Linked DNA regions of Homo sapiens: all the other regions are linked to region 4. The links are contacts of gene promoters, found by promoter capture Hi-C in human tissues and cell types (Jung and others, 2019). All regions are on one chromosome and are shown on one strand. Each heading gives the region's core, a stretch centred on a gene start or on the middle of the fragment in contact. The rest is flanking DNA. Distances are from core to core; before and after follow the strand shown. Region 1 overlaps SPTAN1 (spectrin alpha, non-erythrocytic 1). Region 2 overlaps LOC101929270 (a long non-coding RNA gene). Region 3 overlaps NUP188 (nucleoporin 188). Region 4 holds the start of TBC1D13 (TBC1 domain family member 13).

The links. The method cuts DNA at HindIII sites, captures the fragments that hold promoters and counts their contacts. A contact is called where the count stands out against the background at its distance.
Region 1: a fragment that was not itself captured here is called in contact with the fragment with the promoter of TBC1D13 in region 4 in 2 of the 25 tissues and cell types used here (dorsolateral prefrontal cortex and thymus).
Region 2: a contact is called between a fragment that was not itself captured here and the fragment with the promoter of TBC1D13 in region 4, in 1 of the 25 tissues and cell types used here (IMR-90 fibroblasts).
Region 3: a fragment that was not itself captured here is called in contact with the fragment with the promoter of TBC1D13 in region 4 in 3 of the 25 tissues and cell types used here (H1 embryonic stem cells, heart left ventricle and pancreas).

The regions. Positions count from the first base shown.
Region 1 is chr9:128,565,352-128,569,451 of GRCh38, forward strand. SPTAN1 (spectrin alpha, non-erythrocytic 1) reads left to right here. Exons shown (of 57, transcript NM_001130438.3): 2 at 1,387-1,626; 3 at 3,421-3,546. The coding sequence starts at 1,390. Among named protein-coding and RNA genes, the nearest start is that of SPTAN1, 15 kb to the left of the region's middle. The HindIII fragment of the contact is 4,499 bases long and covers 1-3,680 here.
Region 2 is chr9:128,543,626-128,547,545 of GRCh38, forward strand. It overlaps LOC101929270 (a long non-coding RNA gene), which reads right to left. Exons shown (of 4, transcript NR_188457.1): 2 at 1-59. It also overlaps the pseudogene RNU7-171P. Among named protein-coding and RNA genes, the nearest start is that of SPTAN1, 7.0 kb to the right of the region's middle. The HindIII fragment of the contact is 3,945 bases long and covers 1-3,441 here.
Region 3 is chr9:128,980,255-128,983,812 of GRCh38, forward strand. NUP188 (nucleoporin 188) reads left to right here. Exons shown (of 44, transcript NM_015354.3): 14 at 352-471; 15 at 1,010-1,136; 16 at 2,295-2,447; 17 at 2,648-2,774; 18 at 3,039-3,126; 19 at 3,220-3,296. Among named protein-coding and RNA genes, the nearest start is that of NUP188, 34 kb to the left of the region's middle. The HindIII fragment of the contact is 8,140 bases long and covers 1-3,558 here.
Region 4 is chr9:128,785,251-128,788,823 of GRCh38, forward strand. It overlaps TBC1D13 (TBC1 domain family member 13), which reads left to right and starts at 2,003. Exons shown (of 12, transcript NM_018201.5): 1 at 2,003-2,126; 2 at 3,084-3,157. The coding sequence starts at 2,104. RefSeq lists a silencer at 1,651-2,140. The HindIII fragment of the contact is 9,895 bases long and covers 1-3,573 here.

The DNA.
Region 1 (4,100 bases), core at 181-2,680, 220 kb before region 4:
ATGTTTCCTTTTATAGTATAAAACATTTTGGACTGTGGAAAAACAATAATACAACAAAAATACATGGTTGATATGTGGAGAATAATTTAAAGGAATGGTGATATGACTAAAATCAGCTCATCTACACTTCTCCAGGAAGGTGGTCTCTTAGAAAGGCAATCTTCAGATCTGATCAGGCACAGACAGTGCCTTCCTACCACCAATGAGAACTGCTTGAATCCCTACAGAGCTGGGGCACTAGCTAGAAACTCTGACATCAGCCATCTCCTTCTGTTTACCTGCTAGGTGGATGTGGGGCAGCACTCTTGACAGGTTTCATTCCTAACTCTTAGCCTACTCACCCTTTTCTTTCTGTCTTGGGATAGACGACAGGATAAAGGAAAGAACTCCCAGATGTTTCCAGGGTAACACAATTTTATACCTTTTATTATACATTGTAGAACAATAGCTGGAAGGGACCAGCAGGCTTATCTGTTCTGCTTCCTTAGTGAACTCAAAAACCTCTCTATAGGCTGTAATTTTGAAGTTCGAAGAGACTTGAGAGCACGTCGTTTTTCCTGACATTTTTAGTCACTTTAGGAAATTGAGGCATGGAGAGGGAAGGTGGCTAGTGTGAGGTCACATGTTGCTGACAAATTCAGAAGCTTTTTGGCGTTAATCTGTATCTGTTTCCTTCTGTGTTCCTTAATTAGTTAGAGGATAAAATGGCATATTCTTTGTTTTCGGTTTTTGTTTTGTTTTGTCACCCAGGGCGGAGCGCAGTGGTGCAATGATGGCTCACTGCAGTCTTGAACTCCTGGGCTCAGGTGATCCTCCTGCCTTAGCCTCCTGAGTAGCTGGTACCATAGGCACACACCACCATGCCCAGCTATTTTTTTGTATTTTTAGTAGAGACGGTGTTTCACCTTGTTGCCCAGCTGCTCTCGAACTCCTGGAGTCAAGCAGTCTGCCACTTTGGCCTCCCAAAGTGTTGGGATTACAAGTGTGCGCCACCGCACCCCCTGCTTGAAAGGACTTCTGAATGGACTTAGCAGTGATTATTTGAATACCACAGTTGCTGTTTCCTCTGAATCCTTGAAGCCTTTGTAGAATTGACAGTACAAACCATAGTTCTCCCATTCACAGTTTTCATTTGGTTTCCTTGCCGTGTGTGGGTTAGGCATCTTCTGAGGGCCCTATGTAGGTAGGTGTTGCAGGGGAATGGATGGCCGTTTTTAATAAAGAAATAGGATCTGGGCTTCATTGTTCCTAAGAAGGGGCTGTCTTCTCAATTCATTTGTCTCCTGGGTTTATCTGATAATTATTTCTTTCCTTCAGAGAGGCTAATTACTTTTCATCTATTTTGGTGCCTATTGGTACTTATCTCAGCGCATTTTGTCATTTCAGAAAATGGACCCAAGTGGGGTCAAAGTGCTGGAAACAGCAGAGGACATCCAGGAGAGGCGGCAGCAGGTCCTAGACCGATACCACCGCTTCAAGGAACTCTCAACCCTTAGGCGTCAGAAGCTGGAAGATTCCTATCGATTCCAGTTCTTTCAAAGAGATGCTGAAGAGCTGGAGAAATGGATACAGGAAAAACTTCAGATTGCATCTGATGAGAATTATAAAGACCCAACCAACTTGCAGGTACGTCTGATCTCCTGGGATTCCTGCCAAAATTCAAGAGCCCAAATGTTCTTACCCAAAAATCAGACGAGGAAAGTTACTTAATTATGACCTTGAGAGATTGGACAAGAAGAATATAATAAGGAAGGACAAACTCATTGTTTTCCTGTATTAGTGAGGGTGAATGTGGAATCTTAGAGGTATTAATTGTCTTTTCTGGATGCTTTAAACTGATGGTTCTCAAACCTCTGCCTTGATACTACTGGTGAGCTTTAAACATTTTTCAGGGAAGTTCTGGGTTAATCTCTTGGAATGAGGTTTTTTGTTTTGTTTTGTTTTGTTTTTGTTTTTTGAGGCAGAGTTGCGCTCATGTCGCCCAGGCTGGAGTGCAATGGTGTGATCTTGGCTTACTGCAACCTCCACCTCCCAGGTTCGAGTGATTCTCCAGCCTCAGCCTCCCAGGTTGCTGGGATTACAGGCGCCTGCCACTGTGCCCAGCTAATTTTTGTATTTTTAGTAGAGATAGGGTTTTGCCATGTTGGCCAGGCTGGTCTTGAACTGACCTCAGGTGATCCACCCACCTTGGCCTCCCAAAGTGCTGGGATTACAGGCGTGAGCCACCACACCTGGCCTGGAATGAGTTTTTGAGGAAGGCATAATAGTGATGTTGCTGGCAAAAATTTATAGTTATTCTGGAGTCAGATATCAAAGAATAAGTACTTAAAGTTATGAGTCCCTTTCAGAGACTTGGTAAATCTTATCAAAAGCAAAGCCTGAATCTTATGGTACGTAAATTATATATTTAAAACTTTTTTTTTTTTGAGACGGAGTTTTGCTCTTATTGCCCAAGTTGGAGTGCAATGGTGCAATCTCAGCTCACTGCAACCTCTGCCTCCCAGATTCAAGTGATTCTCCTGCCTCAGCCTCCCGAGTAGCTGGGAATGTAGGCACGCGACACCACGCCCAGCTAATTTTTTGTATCTTTAGTAGAAACAGGATTTCATCATGTTTGCCAGGCTGGTTTCGAACTCCTGACCTCAGGTGATCTGCCTGCCTCAGCCTCCCAAAGTGCTGGGATTACAGGCGTGAGCCAATGCACTCGGCCAAAACTTTTTTTATAAAAAGGGAAAGCCTTTCTTCTCACTTATTTCAGTGAAAGATTTTTAAAGAAAATTGTTTCGGTAGCAAGTGGAACAGTAGTTGGGCCCATGGATTTTTTAACTATAAAAAATTGATTACAGTAACCTAAGAAGAGAATGAAGAACACTGCTTTAGGTACAATCCCTGCCTGGCAGGCCCCTTCCCATCTTAGTATTTGATGAAAAAGAGGTATTGAGAAATGGAGTGTAGGCAGGGTCAAAGAGTCTGGCCTCTAAAGCAAGTGAAAGAAAGTCTCATGTGTGAGTGAATATGGATGGATTTTTCAAGAGTAAGCACTGAATGTTGAGAAAACTGTTGGTATGGTTCTGTATTTCTAGAAGGGACTGGATGTTCACATAAAGGCTAATTTTCTGATAGCAAAAACAAAAAATTATTAATAGGATATTTTGTAGCATCTTCCATTGACAATGTTAGTTCTCAATGGTGAGTGAGGACCATTGATGGCCCTCGCTGGCCAGGCTTTCAGAGGACCAGGAGAAATGCAGTCAGAGTATTTGAGGAATTGAGCAGGTAAGAGAATGGGCAAGGTGCCAAATGATGTATCCCTAACTAGAGGGAGCAGGATTGAGGAGGGGAGGAACACGGGGAACAGCGGGGACAAAATGCTGATGCTGTGTGGTTGCGTCTGAGGCTCACTTCAAGGTCCGCCAACAGGGAAAGCTTCAGAAGCATCAAGCATTTGAAGCTGAAGTGCAGGCCAACTCAGGAGCCATTGTTAAGCTGGATGAAACTGGAAACCTGATGATCTCAGAAGGGCATTTTGCATCTGAAACCATACGGGTGAGTATGAGTAGCTCGTGGAGTGGATGGCTTCATCTGGGTGGAGCATTGTAGATTCATGCATACATGTCAGTTTGGGTTCCCAAAAAGATAGACTTTTCCAGCTTTTAAAAGAATTTATGAAGTCTCCTTAAGAAGTTACCCGAATCCTGCCTTTGTAATATGACAGCATGAATGCAAGCGTTTGTATACTCAGTGAGGAAATTAATATTCCTTTTGCAGAGCAAATTAGAATGTGATTATACTTTAAAGAAAACTGTGAATTTAACATTTATAAGTGGCAGTGAGATGGCAGAGCATATTAGTGAAATTGGCAAATTTAAGGACTCAGATGCAAAGATAAATAGAAACAAGCACAGACACTATAAAGAAGGTTATCTGTGGGAAAGCTTGCTGTCTTGAATCTTGGCTTGCCCTGGGAGGGGTTTACGTCTAGGCAGCAAGCCTGTTAAAGCTCCAGCTCTAAGGAATGATGTGTGGCACCTATTGGTCAATGACCATGGTGATGGGACTGACTTTGAGGCAGGAGTCCTGGAACTCTTTGGTCTGGCTGA
Region 2 (3,920 bases), core at 219-2,718, 240 kb before region 4:
TGCGGTGCGCCGAGATCGCGCCACTGCACTCCAGCCTAGGCGACAGAGGAAGACTCTATCTGAAAAAGAAAAGAGAAAAAAAAAAGGCATCATTTTCTAGGTACCGTGACAGGGAATAGGTTGGGAAGCAATGACTTCAGGACAGGGGGATGTTGAGTGAATGGGGCTCAGCCCTGTAGCCAGTCAACATACAGAGGCTTAAAGCAAATTTCCAAAAGGCATCCCTTTTCCTTCAAGATACTACCACCCTCTATTGGACAACTGCCCTGTTAATAACTGTACAAATCTATGAGTGTTACAGCTCTTTTAGAATTTGTCTAGCAGGTTTTCCAATCTTCACTGAAAAGCTTTAAAAAATAAAGTAAAATTATGATGGAGGTCATGGTACCTCCCAGAGTTGTGCAGCTCATGTTTTGCACAACCATTTAGGGGTTCTAATGGAGCTCTGGGATCCTCTCTGCCACAGCCTTTTTGTTTTATGTGCTGTATGATATATTATGGTTCCATGTAAGATTATGTATGGAAAAGTTCATCTGTCAAAAACAAAATGAAAAATCACTGGATGAGATGATCTATAATTTCTCTTCCACTTTGGATTTGTATTACTTCATAGAAAATACCTCTTAGGCTGGGCATGATGGCTCATGCCTGTAACCCTAGCACTTTGGGAGGCCAAGGTGGAAGGATTGCTTGAGCTCAGGAGTTCAAGAGCAGCCTGGGCAACATAGTGAGACCCCATCTCTATTATAAATTTTTAAAATTTTAAATAAATAAATTAAAAAGAAAATTTATGAAATACCTCTTACGATTTTTGAATTATTTGAATATTCTTCCTCTAGTGGTTAGTGGTCTTGCATATGTCATTTGATGCTGGTATTCCTAATGGATTTCAATGGTAAACCAAGAAAGGAGAGCACTGGGAGTCCAGGTTTTTGATACTGACGGATAGAGATAATGATTACTAGATGAGAGATGCAGCTCCTGATGGAAAGTAGCATCAGACTCCTTACAGCAGAATACTAAGGACTGCCTTCGGCTTTAATTCAAATACTCACTTGTCTCCTTTCTTGCTTTCAAACTTGACCTCATTTATCAGGCTGAGGATCCATGTTTTTGTCACATTATTGTCCTGCTAAAGCAAATCTGATGACAAATTAAAAATTCCAAGAGGACAGAAACTCTACACCTCCCTTACATAGAAGAATAGATTTCTGAGGATTTCCCACCCATGTGCTAGGAGCTTTCCCCCTACTTCTCCAGCTTTCTATGATGATAGCAGTGACAAAATTAGGCTTGGACATCTTCTATCTCAGTGTCAGGAAAACCAAAAGCTCCACTAAGAGCCACAGAGCTTCTTACAAGTGCCTATGTCACACCTGGTAATCCCCTTCACTTTTCTTCATCCTGCCTAATGAATTCCTGACATTAGATTTCCAGTGGACCTACAGAGAGTAGATTAAGCCAGGTGCAGTGGTTCACACCTGCAATCCCAGCGACTTGGGAGGCCAAGGCAGGAAGATTACTTGAGCCCAGGAGTTTGAGACCAGCCTGGGCAATACAGTGAGACCCCATCTCTTAAAAAAAAAAAAAAAAAAAAACAAACAAAAACAGCCGGCCGGGTGCAGTGGCTCACGCCTGTAATCCCAGCACTTTGGGAGGCCGAGGCGGGCGGATCATGAGGTCAGGAAATCCAGACCATCCTGGCTAACACGGTGAAACTCCGTGTCTACTAAAAATACAAAAAAAGTAGCCAGGCGTGGCAGCGTGCGCCTGTAGTTCCAGCTGCTGGGGAGGCTGAGGCAGGAGAATGGCGTGAACCTGGGAGGTGGAGCTTGCAGTGAGCCGAGATCACGCCACTGCACTCCAGCCTGGGTGACAGAGCCAGACTCTGTCTCAAAAAAAAAACAAAAACAAACAAAAAAAACAGGTCACACGCCTGTAGTCCCAGCCACTTGAGAGACTGAGGCAGGAGGATTGCTTGAGCCCAGGAGGTTAAGTCTGCAATGAGCCATCATTGTACCACTGTACTTCAGCCTGGGCAACAGAGTGAGACGCTATCTCTAGGGGGAAAAAAAGCAGATTAGAACTATAGTCTTCCTGGCTATGTGATGCATTTACAAAAACACCCATTATAAAGGGATTTATCCTTTCATTTAAAGCCAGCCTCCATTTAAGAAAGTATCAGTTTTTTCCAGAAGGATGTATTCAAGAACTTTTTTTTTCTTTTAGTTCTTTCAGGATATTTATACTCAGTGCAGCATGTGATCCTAGATTGGAACCTGCACTAAAAATAAAGATATTTCTGTGGGTGTGTTTTTTGCTATAAAGGACATTGGAACAATTGGTAAAACTTGAATAAGGCCTGTATATTAGATAATAGTACTGTGTCAACATGCATCTCTTGACTTTGATCATTGTACTGTGGTTATGAAAATGAATGTTCTTATTCTTGGAAAATATACATTGAGGTAAGTGGGCATGATGTCTGCAACTTATTTATTTTTTTGAAACAGAGTCTAGCTCTGTCGCCCAGGCTAGAGTGCAGTAGTGTGATCTCGCTCCCTGCAATCCCTGCCTCCCGGGTTCAAGCGATTCTCCTGCCTCAGCCTCCTGAGTAGCTGAGATTACAGGCACCCACCACACCTAGCTAATTTTTGTATTTTTAGTAGAGACGGGGTTCCGCCATGTTGGCCAGGCTGGTCTTGAACTCCTGACTTCAGGTGATCTGCCCACCTCGGCCTCCCAGAGTGCTGGGATTACAGGCATGAGCCACCACACCCGGCCTGCAACTTATTTTCAAATGACTGGGGGGAGGGGATATATATGTGTATACATATATATGTATACACGTGTGTATGACAATGTATATGTATACAGCTGTTATGTGTGTCTATATATGTAAACATAGAATAATAAAGCAAATGTGGTCAAAGGTTAACAAATGGGGGAATCTGGGTGAAGGGTATATGGGATTTCTTCCCAGTATTCTTGTAACTTTCCTGTAAATTGGAAACTATTTCAAAATTAACAGATACCTCTCTTTTCACCCTGCAAAAAAACATGCTTACAATTCTGATGAGGTGACAAAATCAACCTCTGGAACCTACAACCCTGAAAACAGGACCCTGGTGACTAAGGTTACCTTGAAGCCATCGACCTGTAGCAAGGATGGAATGTTGACTCTAAACATGTTTTCAACATAGGTGACTTGAAGGTAGAATTTTAATTCAATCGAGAATGCGATTTAAGCACCTGGAGCACTTGATGGGTTGAGCTAAAAGTTACAGGAGCACAGATAGACTTATTTCATCTAGTCTAAGTCCAAAGGCCTGACAGCCAGTCAGCTGATGGTTTAAATCCCAGAGTGCTTTTCTGCAGGGTTCAAAAAAAGGGCTTGATAGTCAAATAAGTTTGGCAAGTAATTTTTTTTTTTTTTTTGAGACGGAGTCTCGCTCTGTCGCCAGGCTGTAGCGCAGTGGCACAATCTTGGCTCACTGCAACCTCCACCTCCCAGGTTCAAGCGATCCTCCTGCCTCAGCCTCCCACGTAGCTGGGACTACAGATGCACGCCACCACACCCAGCTAATTTTTGTATTTTTAGTAGAGACGGGGTTTCACCATGTTGGCCAGGATGGTCTACATCTCTTGACCTCGTGATTTGCCCACCTCGGCCTCCCAAAGTACTGGGATTACAGGTGTGAGCCACTGCGCCCGGCCTGAAAATACTATGTTAAAGGTGAAGTAATCAATGATTACTTACCTACTTGGCAGAATGGGCCAGGTGTGGTGGCTCATGCCTGTAATCCCAGCACTTTGGGAGGCCAAGGCGGGCAGATCACCTGCGGTCAGGAGCTCAAGACCAGCCTGGCCAACATGGTGAAACCCTGTCTCTACTAAAAATACACAAAAATTAGCTGGGT
Region 3 (3,558 bases), core at 157-2,656, 190 kb after region 4:
GAGTGAGGATCTGTGGTTGCTGTGTGGTAGCCAACTGCTGACATAGTTGGGTAATTTGCACTTTAGTGGAAACATGTAATGCACAGGTGAACAATACTGTCTTCCCATAGAAAGGATGGCTGGGAAGAGGTCACTGGATAGAATAGTAATCTTTTTTTAGGTCCCTCACTAAATCAATTATTTTATATCCTTTTTCAGTGGAAATATGAAAGTCTTAAATTATTAAGGAGGGATGATATCTGTCTAAAAGGAAGGATTAATTCTAAATTTTCTCATGATTGCTGGGAAATTTGGAGAGATGTTAATTTGTGGATAATGTGAAGATCAGTGATTTGTCCCCTTCCACCACAGGAGCCAACTTCTGGCCTTGGGATCATTCTGGACAGTGTGTGTGGAATGTTTCCCCACCTTCTCTCCCCACTCCTGCAACTGCTCCGAGCCCTGGTATCAGGGAAGTCCACAGCCAAAAAGGTAAGTTGCTTAGTCAGATAAGTAAAGAGAATGGGAGATTCTTTATGGAGACTTTATTAGGAATCTTTTTTGCTTTCCACATTGCAGTTCTACTGCCATGACAAAAGTTTGTCTGAAGGTGAATGAAAGATACCAAAGATAGCACCTCAATTCTAAAAAATTAAATAATCTTTTCATTAAGTACCTATTGTAGATACTGTGGGACTAAGACTAAGTATAAAGTTCCTTAATATCTAGTTGGAAGTTACTAGATATAAGAAATAAATAGCTAAGAGCCAGGTGGTACAGAGTAAATGTCATTTGAGCAATAAAGACCATACTGTTCAGGAGAGATAACTGCCCTTGTGGAGTGATGGGGACTTGAGTTGAGTGTTAAAGCCCAGTGAAGATTTGGCGAGGGGCGCAGAAGGCAGTTCCAAGAACAGTCACAGTGGTGGGCTTGCAAGAAGTTTGAGAGTCTGGTTGAAAGAGCAGACTGTGGGACCTCTCCTTGCTTATCCTGGAGGGAAATGTGTGATGGTTTTTTCTGTTTTGGCAGGTGTATAGCTTCTTGGATAAGATGTCTTTCTACAATGAACTTTATAAACACAAGCCTCATGATGTGATCTCCCATGAAGATGGAACTCTTTGGCGGAGACAAACACCCAAACTCCTTTATCCCCTTGGTGAGATAAAGAGATCCCCCTTTTATGACAGCTTTTTTTTTTTTTGATGTCTTGCTCTGTCACCCAAGCTGGAGTGCAGTGGCAAGATCATAGCTCACTGCAGCCTCAAATTCTTGGGCTCAAGTGATTCTCCCACCTTAGCCTCCCAAAGCACTGGGATTATAGACGTGAGCCAATGCATCCAGGCAGTTACACTCTGAGGCTCACATCTGTACCAGGTGCTCAAAGAGGAAAATATACAGGGAATAGCCTCACCGTTTTAATCCTGGCATCATCACCACTGACTTCTCCAGTCATCTAGGCACTAACAGTCCTATGAGGTACTGTTGTTATCATCATTTGAATGGAAAACTGTTCTTTGCACTCAAGTGATTTTCAGACATATAGAAAGAGTCACTTGTCGGCCAGGTGTAGTGGCTCACGCCTGTAATCCCAACACTGGGATTACAGGCCAAGGTGGGCGGATCACGTGAGGTCGGGAGTTCGAGACCAGCCTGACCAACATGGAGAAACCCCGTCTCTACTAAAAATATAAAATTAGTCGGGCGTGGTGGTGCATGCCTGTAATCCCAGCTACTCGGGAGGCTAAGACAGGAGAATCGTTTGAACTTGGGAGGCAGAGGTTGCAGTGAGTTGAGATCGCGCCATTGCACTCCAGCCTGGGCAGCAAGAGCAAAACTCCATCTCAAAAAAAAAAAGACACTTGTCTACATGACAAGAACTTTTTTGTGTATTTTAGTTGAAAAAGCTTTAGGAATGTTAGCTACTAAGAAGAAAGCCTGTGAATCCCAGAACTTTGGGAGGCCAAGACAGGCAAATCACTTGAAGCCAGGAGCTCAAGACCAGCCTGGTCAACATGGAAAACCCCATCTCTACTAAAAATACAAAAATTAGCCAGGAGTGGTGGTGCGCACCTGTAGTCCCAGCTACTTGGGAGGCTGAAGCACGAGAATCACTTGAACCCAGGAGGTGGAGGTTGCAGCGAGCCGAGATCGCGCCACTGCACTCCAGCCTGGGCAAGAGGGAGACTCTGTCTCAAAAAAAAAAAATGTCTGTGAGTTTGTGTATCTCTGTGTGTTTAAAATATTGATGTCTGGTAGAGGAGTTACATTTTTTATTTATCCTCAGATATTAGACTAATTTATCTTTCTCTCTCAGGGGGTCAAACCAACCTTCGCATACCTCAAGGCACTGTGGGCCAAGTAATGTTGGATGATAGGGCATACCTGGTACGCTGGGAATACTCCTATAGCAGCTGGACCCTCTTTACCTGCGAGATTGAAATGTTGCTTCATGTTGTTTCAACTGCAGGTAAGGTCAGCTTTCGGAAACATCACCTACGAGGAGGAAAAGTGGATATGCTTGGAGGATTTAGAAAATAGAATATCTACATAAAATTTAGAACCATCAAGATTGTGATTTGTCTGATTTGTGTATCTGGGTCTCAGAGACTGTTCAGTGATCTTAAAGGGGTTGTTTGCCGTGAGGTCACAGGCTGTCTTTCTTCTCAGATGTGATTCAGCACTGCCAGCGAGTCAAACCCATCATTGATCTCGTCCATAAGGTCATCAGTACAGACCTGTCGATAGCAGACTGTCTCCTGCCCATCACATCTCGCATCTACATGCTGCTGCAGCGGTGAGTCTGTCTTGGCTGACCCTCAGCTGCCCAGTAGAGATCTCAGCACTTGTGCCCTCAGTTTGCAGGAACCTGGACACATACCCACTGGGTTAAAGTTCGCGCATATTCCTTGGTTTTCCTGTTTTTATATCTGTGAGGGTTTTCCTGTTTTTATATGTCTGCTGAGGGGAGAGACTGGGGAGAGAGAAGTGGAAAAATGTTTGTGAGGGAACCAGTTGTATTATTTGCTTTATTGAGTATAGTGTATTGTTCTCCAACCAGGTTAACGACAGTGATCTCCCCACCTGTGGATGTCATTGCTTCTTGTGTCAACTGCTTAACTGTTTTGGCTGCCCGCAATCCAGCAAAGGTGAGATGCCAGATCTTCCCAAGAGCCAAAAATGTAGCACTTGGCACATACCTGAAGATATGTGGGCATTTAACTCTTCCTTTTCCTTCTCAGGTCTGGACTGATCTTCGTCACACAGGTTTTTTACCATTTGTGGCCCATCCTGTCTCCAGCCTGAGTCAGATGATTAGGTGAGCCAAGTCCTAGGGTGGTGGGCCATATTCCCTAGTGAGAACCACATATGTCTCAGATCTAGCCTAGGTTTATTAATTTTATTTTTATGTATTTGTTTGTTTATTTTTTTGAGATGGAGTCTCACTCTGTTGCCCAGGCTGGAGTGCAGTGGTGCAGCCTCCGCCTCCCATGTTCAAGCAGTTGTTGTGTTTCAGCCTCCCGAGTAGCTGGGATTATAGGCTCGAGCCACCACGCCCAGCTAATTTTTGTATTATTTAT
Region 4 (3,573 bases), core at 753-3,252:
CATGCCTGTAATCCCAGCACTTTGGGAGGCCTGAGGTGGGCAGACACTTGAGGTCAGGAGTTTGAGACCAGCCTGGCCAACATGATGAAACCCTATCTCTACCTCAAAATACAAAAATCAGCTGGGCATGGTGGCATGCGCCTGTAGTCCCAGCTACTCAGTAGGCAGAGGTTGCAGTGAACTGAGATTGCGCCACTGCACTCCAGCCTGGGGTGACAGAGTGAGACCATGTCTCAAAAAAAAGAAAGAAGAGTATATATGCATAGCAAACGTGTGAAGAGATGCTCAACATCATATGTCTTTAGGGAAATGCATGTTAAAGCAGGAGATACCACTTCACATCTACTAGAATGTCTAAGATTAAAAAGACTGACCACATCAAGTATTGGTGAGGACGTGGTACAACAGCAACTCTCATATACTGCTGGGGTAGGTGTTAAATAATACAACCATTTTGGAAAATATTTAAGCACTTTCTTTTCTTTTTCTTTTTCTTTTTTTTTTTTTGAGATAGAGTGTCGCTCTTTCGCCCAGGCTGGAGTGCAGTCGTGCAATCTCCACTCACTGCAAGCTCTGCCTCCCAGGTTCATGCCATTCTCCTGCCTCAGCCTCCCGAGTAGCTGGGACTACAGGCACCCACCACCACGCCCGGCTAATTTTTTTCTTTGTATTTTTTAGTAGAGATGGGGTTTCACCGTGTTAGACAGGATGGTCTCGATCTCCTGACCTCATGATCCGCCCTCCTTGGCCTCCCAAAGTGCTGGGATTACAGGCGTGAGCCACCGCGCCTGGCTAGCTGTTTCTTTCTTTTTTTTTTTTTCTCAAGAAAAAGGTGTTAAATAATACAACCATTTCGGAAAATCTTTAAGCAGTTTCTTTTCTTTTCTTTTCTTTTTTTTTTTTTTTTGACAGGGTCTTGCGTTTTTGCCCAGGTTGGAGTGCGGTGGCGCTATTGGAGTGCGGTGGCACTATCTCGGCTCACTGCAAGCTCCGCCTCCCGGGTTCAAGCAATTCTCCTGCCTCAGCTTCCTGAGTAGCTGGGATTACAGTTGTGCGTCACCACACCCGGCTAATTTTTGTATTTTTAGTAGAGACGAGGTTTCACCATGTTGGTTAGGCTGTTCTCAAATTCCTGACCTGGTGATCTGCCCGCTTCAGCCTCCCAAAGTGCTGGGATTACAGGCGTGAGCCACCACGCCCGGCCTACTCAACTAATTTTTACATCTTTTGTAAAGAAGGTAATCTCGAGGAGCTGGGATTACAGGCGCCTGCCACCACGCCCGGCTAATTTTTGCATTTTTGGTAGAGACGGGGTTTCACCGTGTTGGCCAGAGTGGTCTCCAACTCCTGACCTCAAGTGGTCTGCCTGCCTCGTCCTCCCAAAGCACTGGAATTTACAGGGATGAGCCACCGCGCCCGGTCCAGCCTATTTTTCTTAAGATATCATTTGTGTTTTTTTCTTTCTTCCTAACTTACATTTTATAGGGTTTGCTGGTATAGTTTTTATAAAAAAAAAAAAAGTTGGGCCGCGCACGGCGGTTCATGCGAGTCCCTGCTATACAGGCCTTGAGGATTCTGCAGAGACCAAGATAAGCTGGGGGGCCTGAACAGTTTAGCAGGGGAGGCCGAGACTCCTGTAACAATCATGCAGTAGTTAATTACAGGGGGGTGAGTGCAGGGAAGACGACAGGGTGACAGGTATATTGCGTAAGTAGACACTGAGGCCCAGGGAAGCGCAAGGAATAGTCCAGAGACACACAGTCTGCGCTGTCACCGGCGGGTTCTCAAATTTGGCCCGCAGGGTCGGCGGCGCTGGGGCTCCCGGCCCGCGATTGCCACGCCCACCAGACCCGAGGTTGCCCCGCTCAACCCGGCCGGCCGTAGCCGCCAGTACCGTGTGGAAGCGTGAGAGTCGAGGGGTGGCACGTGACTGGCGGGGCGGGGCGGGGCTGAGGCGGTGGAACGCGCAGGCTAGTGGCTGTGTTTCCCGCCGGAGGCTTTTGCGCAGAGCCCCGCGTCCCTGGGGGGCGGCGGCGGCGGCGGCAGCGCAGGCGGCAGAGGCGCAGGCGGCGGAGGCGGCTGGGGGGTCCGGAAGTCAACACCATGTCAAGTCTGCACAAGAGCCGGTAAGGGGCCATGGGGCCTGACCCGGCTGGGCCACTCCTGGCCAGGCTGCCCCTTCTGCCCCTCAGAAGGGGGAAGCGCGGGTGTGGCCAGGAATCGGCAGACCCCCTCGGCAGAGGGTCTCGAGCGTCCACCTTCTAACCTCATTGCCTGTGGGCTGCAGGAACGACGGAGGGGCGGCCCTTCTCCTGCCCCTGATGTCACTGCTTCTGCCTCCCTCATCCTGGACCCCTGGTGTCCCCCTTCCCCTGAGTCTTCCTCATCCAGACCCCCATGCCCCGCCCCCGTGCCTTTCCCCCTTTTGATCCCCCTGCTCCCGTACTCTCTCCAAGTGCACCCTGTCCCCCGTGCCTTTTTCTTACTAGGATTGCTAGAGAACTTGCATTCTCCAGTCTGGCCCCTCCCCCAGGCCAGATCCTGCAGCATTGGCTGAATTTTGCTCACTCTTCAGTTTTCCTTCAGGACGTGTTTTTTAAACCCTTTGTCCTTGCCTTCTGGCAGGCCCAGAGGTCTTGTAATGGTTATATTTGTGAGCATGGTCCATTGTCTGCATATCAAATTACTCCTGGTTCCTGAGGTCCAAGGAGTTCAGTTGGTGGCTGTGCGTGGACCCGGCCTGGCCGGCAGGAAGTGCCCAGTAAATGTCAGCTCACTAAGTATTAGAATGTTGGAATATGTCTAATTTTATGGTCCTCATTTGGGAACTTCTAGACAAGAATATCTCTCAAGTTTCTTCCCTGGCATTCTGTGTTTCTGGTTGTAGAGGAAGAAGTGAAATATAGTTTTGTTGTTCTCCAAAGCTGTCTTTGGTGAGGACCTTGACTAAGCTGTGTGATTTTTATGTCCTAAAGGGGAGAGAGGCACAGGTTGGAAACTGGCAGTGTGAGGGAGCTGAGGGCTGTGGGTCTCACTGAGCCGATATCAGCATGCTTCATTTGCCGCCCTATCTCCCCTTCCAGAATTGCAGATTTCCAGGATGTCCTGAAGGAGCCCTCAATTGCATTGGAAAAGCTGCGGGAACTCAGCTTTAGTGGTAAGAAGCCATTCTGTATTTTCACGGTTTCCCTACAGCAGCCCTGTGGCTAGAATACAGGGGGAGGCCACACCTGGTCAGCTCTGGGGCCCAGCTGCTGGGGGCTGGGGCCTTGGAAGGAAATTACACACAGACTCTTGGGGCCTTTTCCAGATTCTGTAGAGCTGAACAGGCAGTGACTGCCTTGAGCTTGGAGGGGTTTCCCAGAGGGGCAGTGGCCACACTTAGCATGCCCTAAGCTTTCCTAAGCTTTCCGCAGGAGGTGCCAGATTCCTGAGAGTAACAGGACAGGACTGAAGCCTGGAGAATGAGAGTTGGGACCTTTTGAGCCCAGGACAGTCTTTCCTCATTCCTTAGCTAGCTTCCTGTGTTGGTGAGTTTGGTTAACTGCAGGGTTGTTCCTTGTTCTCTCCCTG